3 separate regions of the Homo sapiens genome follow, and all the other regions are linked to region 2. Evidence: promoter capture Hi-C in 16 types of primary human blood cells and fetal thymus (Javierre and others, 2016). All regions are on one chromosome and are shown on one strand. Each heading gives the region's core, a stretch centred on a gene start or on the middle of the fragment in contact. The rest is flanking DNA. Distances are from core to core; before and after follow the strand shown. Region 1 has its middle 13 kb from the start of RDH14. Region 2 holds the start of WDR35 (WD repeat domain 35). Region 3 overlaps LOC105373454 (a long non-coding RNA gene).

Region 1 (3,833 bases), core at 117-2,616, 1.4 Mb after region 2:
CCTAAACCTCATGAACCAACCTCTGCTAGCTTCAAACTTTTCTTCTGCAGCTTTCTCACCTCTCTCAACCCAGATAGAGTTGAGTTAGGGCCTTGCTCTGAATTAGGTTTTGGCTTTAGGGAATGTTGTGGCTGGTTTGATCTTAGAAGATCACTTTAGACAGCCCACTAAAACTTTCTCCATATCAGCAATATGAGGCTGTTTCACTTGCTTATCATTCATGTGTTTCCTGGAATTGCATGTTTAATTTCTTTCAAGAACTTTTCTTTGTGTTCATAACTTGGCCAACTGTTTGGCAGGAGAGGCCTCGCTTTTGGCCTTTCTTGGCTTTCAACATGCCTTCCTCACTAAGCTTAATAGTTCCTAGTTTTTGATTTAAATTGAGAGATGTGAGACTCTTTCTTTCACTTGAATGCTTAGTAGCCATTGTAGGATTATTAATTGACTTAATTTCAATATTGTTGTGTCTCAGGCAATGGGGAGGCCCAAGGAGAGGGAAAGAGATGTGGGAATGACCGGAGCAGTCAGAACACACACAACATTTATCAATTACATTTGCCATCTTATATGGGTGGGGCTTCTAGTGCCCCAGAACAATTACTAGGATAACATCAAAGATTACTGATTACAAATCACTATTACAGATAAAATAATAAAGTTTGAAATACATTTTTTTTTTGAGACGGAGTCTTGCTCTGTCGCCCAGGCTGGAGTGCAGTGGCACTATCTCAGCTCACTGCAAGCTCTGCCTCCTGGGCTCACGCCATTCTCCTGCCTCAGCCTCACGAGTAGCTGGAACTACAGGCGCCCACCACGACGCCTGGCTAATTTTTTATATTTTTAGTAGAGACGGGGTTTCACCGTGTTAGCCAGGATGGTCTTGATCTCCTGACCTCATGATCCACCCACCTCAGCCTCCCAAAGTGCTGGGATTACAGGCGTGAGCCACTGCACCCAGCCATAAAGTTTGAAATATTGCTAAGCATTACCAAAATATGACAGAGACATGAAGTGTGCACAAACCATTGAAAAAATGTCACCAATGGATTTGCTCCATGCAGGGATGCTAGAAACCTTCAGTTTGTTAAAAAAAAAAAAAAAATGCAGTACCTGCAAAGCACAGTCAAGTGAAGCATGATAAAACAAGGTATTCTTGAACAATGTAAGAAAATGAAATTCCAAGTGAGTCCATGCTCAAAAAGGAAAACAACGAAGATACCAGTTGAACCCGTAGCCTTATATTAGAAGATAGACAAAGAAATGAACATGTTATATGTTTTAAGTTCAAACATTTTGTGGTACATATAATTCATCTTTTTTATTTTCTGCTTTAATCAACTTTTTAAATGTAACCAACCAATTCAAAATAAGAATGCTTCTATTGTACAGCAGAGGTATCACTTCATATCAGAAGAGTTTTCGTTTGGAGGGATAGAAATAAATGTGTTCTGTGTCGTGAAGCATGTTTTTCCAAGGAGTTCTAATCTAAATTTGGGAATAGTTTTATTTTTTAAAATGCACCAGTATATTGAATTGATAACTTGATATATTTGGTCCTAAAGTGTTTTTGTAGCCAGTTCTTAAAATTTAGTTTCATCATCAGATTTGTTTCTCTCTCTCTCATTTTAAAATCTCCTATTAATTGTGATAAATATGTTTCTGAATGTTTATAATAAAGTTATTTTTCGTATGTCATTTTATATTTGGAAGTTGCCATGTTACATATGAACTATTCCAGGCTGGTTTGTCCTAAGTTGGGGGTTTTAGAGTCTATTAAAAACAAAAAAGTTTCTACCTTCCTTTATAATGTTGAACTTAAGCACTTGTACCTTCCTCTTTTTTCTTTTTGGTATAACCCACAGATGTAGATAGTTCTCCAGCTTTTGACAGAATGAAATTGGTTCTAAATCTTCCTAATAGCCCCCATTTTTGCTACTATGAGAGTAGTAAGGTGAATAAATAGTAGAATTTTAAGTTGTAAACAGATTCAAAACATTTTATCTGTGCAGGCATACATATATGTTGGCATTTTAGTTACATCTTGAAGTTATCCACATGGTTTGAGGAAATGTTGAGCACAGAAAAATATATAATTATTATTAGTTTGTGAAAAAAGCAGAGCGAGTTTCTGCCACCAACCCATGAAAGCACAGGAAATGGCTTTGTGTAGTAGGTGTTTGAGTCTAGGCATTCTGTTGACAGAAGTGGGTTCTACCCAGGGGTTTTGTGTTAATGTAATCAAACACTTCAGAGCTGCAGCCTAACAAGATCAAGTCCACCCACCTCAGAGTTTATCTTTAGCTCATCTGGAAGAGTTTATTTTAAACATTGAACATTGTTTGCTGCTGTTGAAATGAAAGTGAGAGAGTTACAAGCTTTCTTCCACTGCCATCTGGCAGGTTTACTGATGGATCGGGTTCTTTAATCCATGTAACCCTGTGTGTGGGAGCTATTGTCTTTGTGTTGATCATGCAGCTGGCTTGGCTGAACTTTAAAAAGCTTACATAAAGCTATCAAAAGCCATCCTATAGATAAATGAAGTTGAGGATGTTGCAAAAGTCACTGAGGCCTTTTTGGAGAAGGCTTGGATATATATTTTTCATTCTTCACTGAACACATATTTTGCATGTTCTCTTTATGAACTGGAAAAGAGGAAGATAACTGTATTTGGATATTTTGAAAGAAATAACTGAAGCTACCAAAAAAAATGATTATTCTTAATTAAGAAAAGTATTGTAGCATAGTAGAAAGGAAAGAAACAGCAGATTAGGGCGTCCATATTTCATTAAAGTAAATGTGGGATGTAAAAAGTCACATGTGTGTGCTCTTTTCTCGGTGGAGGTTTGTCTGGCTTTTTCTTCAGCCTACATATGGCATAGGGATGTTCAATGATACACTTATTACATACTTAATAATTAGCTATAGCATCCTTAGGTATAGTACTACACAGAATCTCATGTAGTATGCTACTAAGTATAATAATTTACAACCAACTCCAGGGCACAGTTTCAACCGTATTCTCAAATGCATACATACATCTGCATTAAGAGACTGCATGCAAAGAGTAGACTATGTGTAAGATAGGGTATCTTGCAAAAATTTTTATATTACATTTGTAGGAACATAAGACAAATGGAACATGAAATATCTTGGATATGGTCAATTGGTATTCAGTTTTCTTTCCTACCTACATCTAGAGTGCCCTTTTTTATCTTGCATGAGTTGGACAATTTAAAAACAAAAACAAACTACATTGCCTACATCAAGAATGAAAACCAGTTTCCAGCAAACATATACCCATGAAATTAGATGTTGAGGGGACAACTGAGCAGGCCTTTTTACCTATAGTTTTTGGCTATTTTCTGCTGGCAAGAAAGGCCATAGAAACAGAGTCAATTTTGTTTCGTTTTGTTTTCTTTGATAACAAGAGGCAATTGGGGCCGATTCTACAATGATTCCATGTTGACTCACCTCCTGATGGGTGTTGAGAGGAGGTTGCAGTCATGATGGTATCTTGATTCCAGTTCGCTGATGTTTAGATCCTAGTATGACACACATGATGCCATGTGTTTTAACTTTTATTTCCATTGGCAGTCTTTAGGTCTTACAACTTCCTGAAGGTGCAGATTTGGGCAGAAGTAGTACCTTCCCCTCGCAGGTCAGTTCTTGTGTATTCTTGGAGTCATTTCTATTTCTAGAACCTATGTCATTCTTCCAGGCCTTTCCATTATTTTATACATACCTACTTTAATGTTTTCTGTTCCTCCTTAAAATATCTGGGATGGATTCTGTTTCATATAACAAATATAATCTACCAGGATTGCTGACCAGAA
Region 2 (3,871 bases), core at 1,173-3,672:
ACATTGCCATTTTTAATTCATTCTGGTCTTTGAAAGAAATGTACTACTAAAGAGCACTAGTTGTGAATTTAGGGTGTTAAACTTTTTACCAAGTACAAAAATCCCAAATTCACTTTATTATTTTGCTTCAGGATCCAAGTGACAAAGTTATATATTTATAAAATTGCTATAAATCGACAAAATCTAATGTTGTCTTTTTAATGTTAGTGATCCACCTGCCTCAGCCTCCCAAAGTGCTGGGATTACAGGCTTGAAAGTCTAACTTTTTTTTACTTATATATTTGATACATATAATTCTTTTGGCTTTGAAACTTGCAACTTTGAGAACAAAACAGTCCTTTAAATTTTGCACTGCTCAATTCTGTTTTTCGTTTGCATTGTCTTTAATATAATAAAAGTTATTACCTTTACATATTATCATGTCTATTTTTGATGACTCATCAATTTTGTCTATTAAAGATATTTCTTTAAATTATACTGAATTAACAGTTATTTTGATATTCAACAGTTTCTTATCAAAAGACAGAAGTTTGATTCTCCTCCTATAGTTTAATCTCACACTCCTGAGGCTAAAAGTGTAAGTTCAGGTTCAAAAGAAAGGCTTCAATATAAAATTATCTAAATTTGGATAAAATAATGATGAGCTTTACATTAATATAAGCTCCTGAGAAGCAAATATATCCTACAGATGTAAATATAAAATATAAACTTTAAGGAAGGAACAAAAACTAAATATACCAAGGAAATATATAAAGCATCTCTTACTTTTCAAAAATTTTGAAAGGGTATGACATAGAGCTACAGTAGTATTTTCCAGACTTTTTTGAGCCCAAAATCAGTAATACATATTAATATACCACAGAGAAATGGTGGTATAGAAGGAATAAATGAGAGTTCATGTGCAAGAAGGGAAAGATAAAGAGAGGTGAGTTTTCAGGTGTCACCATCAGTAACTAGCTTCAACTAATTATGTCTTGACCAGTTTATTGGAAACTCCTGGGTTAGATAATACTAATTTGTCTCATGCGTCCAGTATAGGGAGCCTATGGACAGGGGCCAATGTATCTTAAACAGACACACAAACAATGGAAAGCAAACATTATCTGAATGGGATTGGGTTAAGTTTGGAAAGAATTCCTCATGGAGACTGATTTGTGCTGGTTTGGCTAGGCACAACTGGCCTGTTAAGAGGGTAGGACCATATATAAAGTGGCTTGGGAAGCAGAGCCGGATGGAATGTTGCCCTGCAGAAAGCATATTGGCTTACTTGAGGTGGGGGCTCCCTAGTAAAAACATTTAGGATTGAGGGAAGATCTGATTTTGGATGGAGTTTAGATTTGCTAGGAAAGGCACTAGGGACTATTGTCAATTCTATAATAGATTGTGCTGGGTGAGACAAATCACCCAGGTCAAAGGATTGGAGGATTTTTATTTTATTTTTGTCTGAGATGGGAAAAGACTCCAAGTGGGGAAATTAACTACTGATGCATAAATTACATGCTAGATTATGGTAAAAGGGAAAACCAGAAATAAAAACATAGGTGAGACCAAATAATTTCATGAGTGGTTCTACTTGGATTTCTGCCCTATGCCTTAGACTTTGAGGCTTTGTAACTCTCAAGCATTCCAAAAGGACAAAGGAGAATGAAGAAAGAAGGTAAGAAAAAGAAGAGAATATGTAACAGTCGACTCTAGACGAGAAAACACCAAACGCTCAAATATTTGTAAAATGGGAGGCCATGCCCCAATAGCAATTGTACGCTGTAATTACCCAACGTTTACAGAAATTCCTTTAAAAGGACCCTCGGGGTTGCGGTAATAATTAAACTGTTAAAAAATATCAAAACAAGCGGAATAAACAAAATCTTCTATTCCTAAATTGCTCTAGAGGTTCTCCAATCCCCAAAGACACAGAGAAGGGTTGTAAGATCTCAGTACGCACATTTGCACTTTCATCTGGCCAGTGGCGCCAGCCTATCAAATACAGTAAATGGCTTTTCCCTTTCAAGAATGTTGGAACTTTGGAACTTACAAAATACTAAATAATTTGCCCTTATTCGAACGGGCGCCTCTCCTCTTAGGTTTATAGTAATGCCACCTGAGGCGCGGCTCCATAGCGATCATCACAGGTGTGGCGGGAGGGAGGGCGGCAGTGACCACGAGACGGGGCGCAGAGGGCGAGCGCACGGCTGGCAGTGACAGGTCGCGACCCAGCTCCTTGCGGAGAGCAGAAAGGCCCAGACGCCAGGGAACAGGACTAGCCCAGCTACCGCCTCGCGCCTCGCGCCCTGCGCCCACAAACCCATCGACGTCCGCGCAGGCGCACTACGCCGGTGCCCGGTGCGAGGGCGTCACCGGAAGTGTCCCGCGGCGCCCCGGATGCGACCGGGCAACAGCGGTTGCCAGGGCGACGGGAGCTTTCCGGAGCTGCTGGTACTCCCGATTGGAGACGTAGAACCGTTACTTGTCGAGGGCCTTAGCGGCCGCCGTGACCCTCTCGGGGATCCCACGATGTTCTTCTACCTGAGCAAGAAAGTGAGTTTCCTGGGGGGCGTCCTCGTTTCTCCGCCATTCCCGCAGCCTGCGGCGATTCCCGCTGCCTTCCCGAGAAGCCAGGCTCCTTCACCCGGTCCTGGTCGTGGCTTCGCCATTCCGCAGCCATCCTTCCCGCCGGGTCCAGCCTCCGACCTCTTCCTGCGGTTCCCAGAGCCTCAGTCTTTGGCCGAGCTTGCTGCCCTCTCGCAGCACTCTCCCATTCCTGCCCCTGGCTAGGTCCTTTTGGGTGGCTTGAGGATAAGTCGCCACGTGCTACCCTATGTTTCCTCCTCCACTTGTTGCTGATCCACGTGATTTAAACTCTTTGGATCACCACGAGCCATTGGGCAAGAGAAAAGAAATAACAATAGGATAGCCTAAGTTGTAGGTAAAAAGGAAGAGGGACTGGTGGTATGGATTTATACCCTCTCCCCGTCCTCCCTTTAAAAAATCCATCCGGTGAGACTCTGGCGTTGGCTTCCTCCGCAGTCACTATCCTTCTCTTTTGTGCACTTCTTTCCCTCTTTCCCAAATGCTAGAGCCCGGGTCAGTTCAGGGGACCATGCCCATTTTCACAACAGCTCATTTTTTTTCTGCAAGGCCGTTCGTTTTTCTTCTTGGAAGATTTTCTTCAGCTTTCATCTCCTGCAGACTTACTTCCCAGCTCCTTCGTGAAAAGTTGCTAGTGCGGCTGTGGTTGCTTTTTCAGATTTCCATTCCCAATAACGTGAAGCTGCAGTGTGTATCCTGGAACAAGGAACAAGGGTTCATAGCATGCGGTGGTGAAGATGGATTACTGAAAGTTTTGAAATTAGAGACGCAGACAGGTAAATGAATGCAAGCCCACATGTTTGGTAGTAAATTGGCTAATGTTATTTGTTCAGTGCGGTCTACTCATGTTATCTGTCAATATGCAGTTCTGATTATTTTAAAGGGAAAACTACCAAAACATTTTATGGTGTTTTTCTGGAGTATATTTGCAATAAAGTTCAGAGAATGTTGAATGTAAACATCGGATGGTTTTTGCTGAGTTATTAATGGAAAATGAAAAATAATGAAGAATGAAAATAAGTCACTGTGTTATGCTATGTCTAATTATTGTACTATATTATTAGGAGTCTAAAAGAAATCCTGTGAGTCAACATTTCACTAAGAAAATCTGGCAGATTGTTTACAGGTCTGTGTCATCCTTTCTGCTTATCAGATGCATTAATGGTTATTCACCTAGTGTCCAAGAACAGAAAATGGGATACGTTTTACATTTCTATTAGTAGGTCTCTTGTCTTTGCTGCTTGATTTCTTTCTTTATCTAGTTCTCTGGAATCACAGCAAACAG
Region 3 (3,655 bases), core at 821-3,320, 1.5 Mb after region 2:
GGTCCAGAATCATCCCACAGGTTAGTGGTGGGGCTGGGACAAAGAATCCTTTTGTCTGGTTTCCTCCATTATTCTTTGCCTTCTGCAATACAATATTTTACATATTAAGAATCCCAAATAAATCAAGTAATGCTATTTAACTTCAAGCTAAGGCTAAGGTAAAATAATTTCCTAATTAATTCTTTAGAAAATTGTACTAATAGCGTAAATGATTAGAGAGGATGAGAATGACCAGTGGTGGTGGTGGTGGTGGTGGTGGTGGTGGAGGAGTAGGAAAAGGTGGGGCAGGAAAAGCAGGTGATTTAGACACTGGAATCTTATCACTTGGAACTTTTTGGATTGCAATTGCATAGCTACGTTCACAGAAATTGGAGTAATAGCAATACTATGGGGACACAGGTTTTGGTACCTAGCAAGAACCAGATCCTGGGATTTGATCTAGCTCGTCGCATTTAATTTTTATAGCCTCACATCTGTGTGTGAAGGAGGCATTTATTATTATTCCCATATAACAAATAATTGTCATTTAGTTGTGGAATCCATTTTAACAGGCCAGAATGTATCAAGAGCCCTCTGAATATCTGAAATAGAACAACAATCAGACACAGAAAGACAAATACCACATGACCTCACTTATATGTGAAATCTAAAAAAAAAAAAAATCAAATTCACAGACGTAGAGAGTAGAAAGGTGGTTAGCAGAATCTGGGGAGGGGTGGGTTGGGAAAACAGAGATATTGGTCAGAGGGTACAAGTTTCAGTTAGACAGGAAGAATAAGTTTACAGATCTATTGTACAGCATGGTGACTATAGTTAACAAAATGCATTATTGGTCAACTGATGGTCACAGTCAATTAATAGTGCATCATGTGTATATATCAGGAGAAAAATAGATGCAGGGCACATAGTTAATATAATCTAATATCATAAACATATTTGTGTATATATATGTGTGTATTTATATACACATATGTGTGTATATGTATTTATATAACCCACATACATATTCAAACATGTGTCTATAAAATACCAAAACAACACTAGTAAAATAATGATTGGGTGTTTAATAATTTTCTCATTCATTTAATTTTATAAATTCACAAATAAATTTGTAGTTTTTATTATCATAAAAATTATAAAGCATGTAATCCCATCACTTTGGGAGGCCAAGGTGGGCCAATCACGAGGTCAAAAGATGGAGACCATCCTGGCCAACATGGTGAAACCCTGTCTCTACTAAAAATACAAAAATTAGCTGGGCGTGGTGGTGTGCGCCTGTAGTCCCAGCTGCTCGGGAGGCTGAGGCAGGAGAATCGCTTGAACCCAGGAGGCGGAGGTTGTAGTGAGCTGAGATCACACCACTGCACTCCAGCCTGGCAACAGAGTGAGGCTCTCTCTAAAAATAATAATAATAATAAATAGTAAAACTTATCTCACAAATGAATGACATAAGCTTCTTTCTGATACTGATTGTTAGAAATCCTGAAATCTATGTAAAACAGCCATCCTTTCCTCCAAGACCCCACGTGTCACTGGAGCCACAATATTGAGCTTACTCTAACATAGCTAAGATGTCAAGAAAGAAGACAATTTCAGCTTAAGTAGTGTGGCTGGTTAGGTTTTTTGAGTAAGTTCTCCTTCTGAAAATATCTGAAATGCTATCCAAAATATATTTTTATATAATAAACACAGAAGAGCTTATAATATAGTAAGAAATTATCTGGTCAAAATCTATGTAAAGGCAGGAAACCAGAGATGTAAGGGGACACTCATGGCCACATTTTCCTGAGAGTATTGGGCAAATCAGATTAAAATACAGAGTGTGGAAGCCACACACCAAAGGCCACGCTTTCCCAGGAGGAGAATCCGCTAAACAACATATGCCTGTAAAGCTGGGATCCAACCAAAAATAAATCTGTTTTGCCTAATACACCACAATAAACCTGTGTCTCTCCTTTCCTGCAGGGGCCACATAGAAATCTGCCTTGGTACTGAGAAAATAGTCTCTGAGAAGTTGTCACCACAAATTATCCCTAACACATACTGAGAGTCCAAATTCACAATAATTGTTAAAAATAATCTTCAGACCAGGCACGGTGGCTCATGCCTGTAATCCCAGCACTTTGGGAGGCCGAGGCGGGTGGATCAGGAGGTCAGGAGTTCGAGACCAGCCTGGCCAACATGGTGAAACTCCATCTCTACTAAAAATACAAAAAAATAGGAAGGCATGGTGGCAGGTGTCTGTAATCCCAGCTACTTGGGAGGCGGAGGCAGGAGAATTGCTTGAACCCGAGAGGCAGAGGTTGCAGTGAGCTGAGATCATTCCACTGCACTCTAGCATGGGCGACAGAGCAAGACTCCGTCTTGGGGAAACAAAAATAAAAAAATAAAAAATAAATCTTCAAACTGCGCAGATTCAAATTGCAGAGGCAAATATCAGTACTCTCTGGAGGAATGCACTATCATTCTATCCTTGAAGAAGGCCCAGAAATAATTTTCCAAATAAACGCAGCAGCTCACAGTCCAAAAAGAACAAGGAGACAATAAACCATAAGTAAGAAGCAGCAAACAAACAAACAAAGGCAACAGGCAAAGTTTTGCAAAGACCTAAGATACTAGAATTGTCAGACACAGTTTAATAAATAATTAACTATATTGTGTTTAAATACATTAAAAGGAAAGCTTTAAAAATCTGTGGAGTGGAAATCCACAAAAAATGACAGCAGATTTGACAAAAATTAGAAATTTTTCAAATAAAGAGACGATTAAAATTAAAAACTCAATGATCAGTTTTAACCATAGATTAGAGACAGCTAAAAAATAATTGGTAAATTGTAAAACAGATTCAGAATAAATCATCCAGATTATAACATAAACAAAGAGACCTATAATGTGATAGAGAAGTTATGAGACATAAAACATTAAGTGAAATGGTCTTAGCATATTTTCAGACTCCCAGAAGGAGGGCATAGATAACATGTTTAAAAAGAAATATCTGAAGATATAACAGTTTAGAAATTTCCAGAAATGGCAAAAGACATTAATTTAGAGACCCAAGGAATTCAATGAATCAGAAACAGAAAAAAATTAAAGAAAAGCCAAGTTAAACACATTATAGGAAAACTGGTGAACACCCCAGAGATAAAAAGCTGAAGCTTGGTGGTGTTGGTGGTGGTAATGGCAGGGCACTGAAGGGAAGCGTTGTCTTTAAGGCAATGATAGACGAACAGCTGACTTTTGAACTGCAGCAATTGAATCCAAAGAAATGGAATGATATCTTTATTTTGTGTGTTTGTGTGTGATGGGTGCTGTGAGGGGTACTGCTGTCCTCAAATTCTCTATCCAGAAAACACATCTCTCAGGAATGGGGGCAAAACTAAAACATTTTCAGGTAAATTAAACTATATATTTCTTAGCAGCTGACTCTCACTAAAAGAAATTCTGAAAAAAAAAATTTCAGGCAGAAGAAAACTGATGCCAGATTGAAGGTCTGAGCCATAGGATGGAATAAAAACAGAGAAAGTGGGAATATGTGAATATCTAACAACATCTGACTCTATTCAGATTGCTGTCACAAATTACCATAAAGTAGGTGGCTTGTAAACAATAGAAATTCATTTCTCACAGTTCTAGAGGGTGGGAAGTGCAAAATCAA

The links. The method cuts DNA at HindIII sites, captures the fragments that hold promoters and counts their contacts. A CHiCAGO score of 5 or more calls a contact.
Region 1: a contact is called between a fragment that was not itself captured here and the fragment with the promoter of WDR35 in region 2, in 1 of 17 cell types (naive CD8 T cells). The highest score is 5.4, in naive CD8 T cells.
Region 3: a contact is called between a fragment that was not itself captured here and the fragment with the promoter of WDR35 in region 2, in 1 of 17 cell types (total CD4 T cells). The highest score is 6.0, in total CD4 T cells.

What each region holds. Positions count from the first base shown.
Region 1 is chr2:18,545,248-18,549,080 of GRCh38, reverse strand. No RefSeq gene overlaps it. Among named protein-coding and RNA genes, the nearest start is that of RDH14, 13 kb to the left of the region's middle. RefSeq lists an enhancer at 1,937-2,457. The HindIII fragment of the contact is 2,023 bases long and covers 355-2,377 here.
Region 2 is chr2:19,988,656-19,992,526 of GRCh38, reverse strand. It overlaps WDR35 (WD repeat domain 35), which reads left to right and starts at 2,422. Exons shown (of 27, transcript NM_020779.4): 1 at 2,422-2,535; 2 at 3,245-3,362. The coding sequence starts at 2,512. It overlaps WDR35-DT (WDR35 divergent transcript), which reads right to left and starts at 2,323. Exons shown (of 3, transcript NR_110235.1): 1 at 2,033-2,323. MATN3 (matrilin 3) reads left to right here. Exons shown (of 8, transcript NM_002381.5): 8 at 1-475. RefSeq lists a silencer at 2,202-2,281 and enhancers at 2,442-2,491, 2,122-2,625, 2,642-2,691. The HindIII fragment of the contact is 12,234 bases long and covers 1-3,871 here.
Region 3 is chr2:18,510,548-18,514,202 of GRCh38, reverse strand. All of the region lies in intron 6 of LOC105373454 (a long non-coding RNA gene), which reads right to left. Among named protein-coding and RNA genes, the nearest start is that of RDH14, 48 kb to the left of the region's middle. The HindIII fragment of the contact is 1,229 bases long and covers 1,456-2,684 here.